Linked DNA regions of Homo sapiens: region 2 is linked to region 1. The links are contacts of gene promoters, found by promoter capture Hi-C in blood cells and fetal thymus (Javierre and others, 2016). All regions are on one chromosome and are shown on one strand. The core of a region is centred on a gene start or on the middle of the fragment in contact, and the rest is flanking DNA. Distances in the headings are between cores, read along the strand shown.

Evidence for each region. The method cuts DNA at HindIII sites, captures the fragments that hold promoters and counts their contacts. A CHiCAGO score of 5 or more calls a contact.
Region 2: a fragment that was not itself captured here is called in contact with the fragment with the promoter of FBXO31 in region 1 in 1 of 17 cell types (naive CD8 T cells); the score reaches 5.8 in naive CD8 T cells.

The regions. Positions count from the first base shown.
Region 1 is chr16:87,382,328-87,385,207 of GRCh38, reverse strand. It overlaps FBXO31 (F-box protein 31), which reads left to right and starts at 1,432. Exons shown (of 9, transcript NM_024735.5): 1 at 1,432-1,803. The coding sequence starts at 1,464. It overlaps TRM-CAT6-1 (tRNA-Met (anticodon CAT) 6-1), which reads left to right and starts at 1,114; the gene lies at 1,114-1,186. It overlaps LOC124903747 (a long non-coding RNA gene), which reads right to left and starts at 1,275. Exons shown (of 2, transcript XR_007065168.1): 1 at 1,012-1,275. RefSeq lists enhancers at 324-975, 976-1,629 and silencers at 1,037-1,696, 1,837-2,076. The HindIII fragment of the contact is 7,278 bases long and covers 1-2,880 here.
Region 2 is chr16:87,717,666-87,720,545 of GRCh38, reverse strand. The region is part of intron 7 of KLHDC4 (kelch domain containing 4); the gene reads left to right. Among named protein-coding and RNA genes, the nearest start is that of KLHDC4, 47 kb to the left of the region's middle. The HindIII fragment of the contact is 8,250 bases long and covers 1-2,880 here.

The sequences.
Region 1 (2,880 bases), core at 183-2,682:
GGATTACAGGCGTGAGCCACCGCGCCCGGCCTAATTTTTTAAATTATTTGTAGAGATGGGGGCGTCTCACTATGTGGGTAGGCTGGTCTCCGACTCCTGGGCTTAACCGATCTACCCGCCTCGGCCTCCCAAAGTGCTAGAATTACAGGCGTGAGCCACTGCGCCTGGCCTGTGTGGTTTGTTTGTTTGTTTGTTTGAAGAGACAGGGTTTCACCATGTTGGTCAGGCGGGTCTCAAACTCCTGACCTCAGGTGATGCACCCTTCTCCGCCTCCCAAAGTGCTGGGATTACAGACGTGAGCCACCGCGCCCAGCCATTTGTGGCTATTTTTGTTTTTTGTTTGTTTTGGAGACAGGGTCACGCTGTGTTGCCCAGGCTGAAGTGCAGTGGCACCATCACGGGTCACTACAGCCTCGGCCTCCTGGGATCAAGCGATCCTCCCGTCTCAGCTTCTCTTTCTAAAATTTTGTTTTGTAGACAGGGTCTCGCTGTATTGCCCAGGCCGGTCTCGAGCTCCTGGCCTCGATTGATACTCCCGCCTGGGCCTCCAAGAGATGGGGTCCGAGGCGAGCCCACGGCGACGTGCGCGGCTGCTCAGGTGAGAGGACGCCTTCGCGGTCACCACCCGCGGACCTGGGAGACGACCCCGCTCAGCGGCCTCGGCGGAGCCCAGCTGGAGCAGGCGTGCGCGGCTCCCAGCAGCTGCAGGAACAGGCGCCCTTTGGGCGGCGCCGCATGGCAGGGCCTCCCTTTCCAGACCGGGCGCGCATCCCCGGATCTCTTGGGCCGCGCCGGCCGCCGCCCCTCCAAGCCCTCCCCGGGGCTTCCGCAGGGAGCTCGGGATCCCCGAAGGTCCCTGCAGAGCTCCGCAGCTCGGGCCTTTTGGTTACCATAAGGCGGAGACGATGGAACGCGCGTTGTTTCAATGGACAAAAGGGCTTCTAGGCGCCCTTTGGGGTTCTGGCTGCTGCCTCTGTATTTGGAGGCTGTAAGGCGCATCTTTCTACTCACCGGCCGGCGCGGCACAGTTTCGGGCGCCGGAAGCGGGACGCACGGGCGCGAGGGGCGACCCCTATCTCCACAAAAGCCGCGGCGCGAAGTGGTCGCCGAGCAGCCTCGTTAGCGCAGTAGGCAGCGCGTCAGTCTCATAATCTGAAGGTCGTGAGTTCGAGCCTCACACGGGGCAGTCTAACGTTTTGCACTCGGCATCACCACTTTCTTTTCTCATGCCCGTCACGGGCGGCGCCCTCACGCTGGAGGGGAGGGCAGCAGTGCGGGGTCTCTGAGGTCGCCGCCCCGCGGGGAGGGGGTGGCGCGGCCGGGGCGGAGCTCTACGTAGGGGCGGGGCTAGGCTCTCCAGGGGGCGTGGCGAGCTCTGCGGCGGGGGCGTGGCTCGGCGCTGGCGGGGCGGGGCCGCGCTGGAGCGTGCGCACAGGCGGCAGCAGTGGCCGTCACTGGGCGGCATGGCGGTGTGTGCTCGCCTTTGCGGCGTGGGCCCGTCGCGCGGATGTCGGCGCCGCCAGCAGCGCCGGGGCCCGGCCGAGACGGCGGCGGCCGACAGCGAGCCGGACACAGACCCCGAGGAGGAGCGCATCGAGGCTAGCGCCGGGGTCGGGGGCGGCTTGTGCGCGGGCCCCTCGCCGCCGCCCCCGCGCTGCTCGCTGCTGGAGCTGCCGCCCGAGCTGCTGGTGGAGATCTTCGCGTCGCTGCCGGGCACGGACCTACCCAGCTTGGCCCAGGTCTGCACGAAGTTCCGGCGCATCCTCCACACCGACACCATCTGGAGGAGGCGTTGCCGTGAGGGTGAGCGCGCGGGGGTGGCGGGGCCGGGAGGGGCGGGGGGTCCCTGCCAGGTGGAGGCCTCGGAGCTGGGAGTGGCGGGGGCGGTGGCCCCGGCCGGGGGCCACCAGTTGGGCGCGGGGCCCGGCGATGTGGTGTTTTGGGTGTGGGTGGGGAGCGGCCGCGGTGACACCACGTTGAGGGGGCCAGGGAGGTATTTGAGGCGGTTAGGGAGGGTCCGAGGGGTCCAAGAGAGGCAGACGGGGTAGGGAGGGGTTGAGGGCGTCAGGGAGGCATCGAAGAGGCCCTGACGCGGGGCACGGGACACCACGGGGCCGAGGCCGTGCCGGGAGCTGGGGCTGGGATCCCTCGAGGTCTGCGCGGGGCCTAAGCTGACGCCTGGGGGCCGCCTCCTCTGCCCCTGTCTTGAAGGCGAGCCGAGGGTGCCCCGCTGGCCCTGACCAGAGACGAGGTGAACTTGAAGAAATGGGAGCAGGCCGGGCGCGGTTTCACGCCTGTAATCTCAGCACTTAGGGAGGCCGAGGCGGGCGGGTCACCTGAGGTCAGGAGTTCGAGACCAGCCTGGTGAAGATGGTAAAACCCCGTCTCTACTTACAAAAATACAAAAATTAGCCGGGCGTGGTAGCGGGCGCCTGTAATCCCAGCTACTCGGGAGGGTGAGGCAGAAGAATGGCTTGAACCCGGGAGGCGGAGGTTGCACTGAGCCAACATCTGGGCCATTGCACTCCACCCTAGGCGACAGAGTGCGACTTGGTCTCAAACAACAGCAACAAAAAAAATTACGGGAGTAGGGGAAGCCCAGTGTCGGGGGCTCCTGATGGTGGGGGCGTAGAGAGACGGATGGATCACAGCGGTGCGGGCTGGACTTTTGCCTTCAGCAATATTGGATGTAACAGATCACAGGAGGAGATGTTTATTTAATCTGGAGTTCAAGGCTCTCTCTGTTTAAAGGTTGACAGCTCTTTGATGTTCAAGCAGCTCATATTTAGGTAAAAAGGACAGGTTAGAAAACATCCAAGCGATGCAGAACAGCAAAAGGAACAAAGTAAATACCATCAGAGACCCCAGCAGTCAAAAATA
Region 2 (2,880 bases), core at 143-2,642, 340 kb before region 1:
CGGCGTCTCCGCAGGGGCTCATCACCTGTGGTTGTGTGGTGAGGAGGGCACGGTGCGTGCGGTCGCTGCTTGCCCGAGCTGTGCTCTTGATGGGTTGCTGGACCTGCGTCTGGCAAAGGTGGTTTAGGAGTCGTCTTCGGGCGCCTGGATGGACAGTCTCAGTGGTGTGGGAAGGAGCGGCCCCCATGGTTTCTGTGTTCACACACGTCCGCTTGGAACCGACACCCTATCCCTGCCTGATTGTGATTTCGGTGAACATCAGTGCTGCCGTTAGCACTGTCTTCTCCCAGGACCAGTCGTCTGGCCGTCTTCTCCCACAAACGCTCCCCGGCCTTTATCTACCTACCACTGCACCGCCGGCCCATTCTGTGACCTGGCCTGAGCTGGTGACGGGGTCCTTGGGGCGGCCCTGTGTGTCTTCTCCTCTCCTGATGATTGAAATGGGTCGGCGTCTGAGCCGACAGCCGGGTGAGCCAAAGCAGCTGCATTGAGGACTCACTGCAGGCTAAGCTAAGTGGCCTGTACTTCTGCGGGAGGTGGGGTCTCATCAGGGGATGTGGCTGCAGGCTAAGCTAGGTGGCCTGTACTACATTGTGCGGGAGGTGGGGGCCCGTTGGGACTTGGCGTGTGCGGCCGATGCGCCTCCAAACGTTCAGGCACAGCTCTGCTGGGCTCTGGGGTCTCAGCCGGATGCTAAGTAATTCCAGAGCCAGCCCTGTTGCGCTCACCCTCCATGTTGACACTTGATCTCTCTCTCAGATGTCTTTGCATTCCAGCAATAATGTATTAGAATGAAGTCTAACTTCTCCAAAAATTCATGCAGATTCTGTTTACTACTTTACCGTAGCCGAATCAGTTTTTTGTTTTTTTTTTTTAGTATTTATTGATCATTCTTGGGTGTTTCTCGGAGAGGGGGATTTGGCTGGGTCATAGGACAACAGTGGAGGGAAGGTCAGCAGATAAACATGTGAACAAAGGTCTCTGGTTTTCCTAGGCAGAGGACCCTGCGGCCTTCCGTGTGTTTGTGTCCCTGGGTAGTTGAGATTAGGGAGTGGTGATGACTCTTAACGAGTATGCTGCCTTCAAGCATCTGTTTAACAAAGTACATCTTGCACCGCCCTTAATCCATTTAACCCTGAGTGGACACAGCACATGTTTCAGAGAGCACAGGGTTGGGGGTAAGGTTATAGATTAACAGCATCCCAAGGCAGAAGAATTTTTCTTAGTACAGAACAAAATGGAGTCTCCCATGTCTACCTCTTTGCACACAGACACAGTAACAATCTGATCTCTCTTTCTTTTCCCCACATTTCCCCCTTTTCTATTTGACAAAACCACCATCATCATCATGGCCCATTCTCAATGAGCTGTTGGGTACTCCTCCCAGACGGGGTGGCGGCCGGGAAGATCCTCACTTCCCAGACGGGGCAGCCGGGCAGAGGCATCCACCACCTCCCTCCCAGACGGGGCGGCTGGCCGGGCGGGGGCTGCCCCCCACCTCCCGGATGGGGTGGCTGCTGGGCGGAGACGCTCCTCACTTCCCGGAGGGGGCGGCTGCCGGGCGGAGGGGCTCCTCACTTCTCAGACCGGGCGGCCGGGCAGAGACGCTCCTCACCTCCCAGACAGGGTGGCGGCTGGGCAGAGACACTCCTCAGTTCCCAGACGGGGTCGCGGCCGGACAGAGGCACTCCTCACATCCCAGACGGGGCGGCGGGGCAGAGGCACTCCCCACATCTCAGACGATGGGCGGCCGGTCAGAGACGCTCGTCACTTCCCAGACAGGATGGCGGCCGGGAAGAGGCGCTCCTCACTTCCCAGGCTGGGCAGCCGGGCAGAGGGGCTCCTCACATCCCAGACGATGGGCGGCCAGGCAGAGACGCTCCTCACTTCCCAGACGAGGTGGCGGCCGGGCAGAGGCTGCAATCTCAGCACTTTGGGAGGCCAAGGCAGGTGGCTGGGAGGTGGGGGTTGTAGCGAGCCGAGATCACGCCACTGCACTCCAGCAAAAACCAGTCAGGCGTGGCGGCGCGTGCCTGCAATCCCAGGCACTCAGCAGGCTGAGGCAGGAGAATCAGGCAGGGAGGTTGCAGTGAGCCGAGATGGCGGCAGTACAGTCCAGCCTCCGCTCGGCATCAGAGGGAGACCGTGGAGAGAGAGGGAGAGGGAGAGGGAGACTGTGGAGGGAGAGGGAGGGGGAGGGGGAGGAGAGGGGGAGGGAGAGGGAGGGGGAGGGAGAGGGGGAGGGAGAGGGAGAGGGAGAGCGAGAGCGAATCGGTTTTTGTGGAAAGACTGCGTGAATGTAAAGCTGGTTTGGTGTATGCTAATAGAGCTTGAGCACAGGTGATCCAGAAAAACAGAGGGCAACAAGGCCGTTGTCTGTTACTTTCTTTGAAGACAGACAGGTTGGATTTTGGGAAAAGTCACAACACTTCAAGAAAAGAAACTGCTGTAGAAGGAGGAGTTAGAAGCTGTTGGGGAGGTCGAACCATGGGCCCTGTTAGAGGGTGTGGCCAGCCAGCTGTGTGCCGGAAGGAACCTGTGGACCCGTGTGAGCAGATCAGGCCTTGTGAAGTGCTCCACCTCTCTGGCTTGCATGGTCTGGAGGGGAAGTACTTAAATATTGTAGCATAAAACATTCCCCCATAGGCTGTTAATTCTAAGAAGACAATGTTGCTGTCAGCAAAACAAGACGGTTCATATAGACAGGTGCAGGGTACTACAAGGAGACAGAGACCTGCCGAAGCTAAGCAGCGATTTGAGTTTCTGATGACAAATAGAGACGTCACTGAATTCCTTCCTTGTCCCCCCAGCAGATGAAGTCTCTGGGTGTCAATTCAGTTCACAATAATGCTAGGCCCTTAGGTTTGGAAAAGCAGGCAT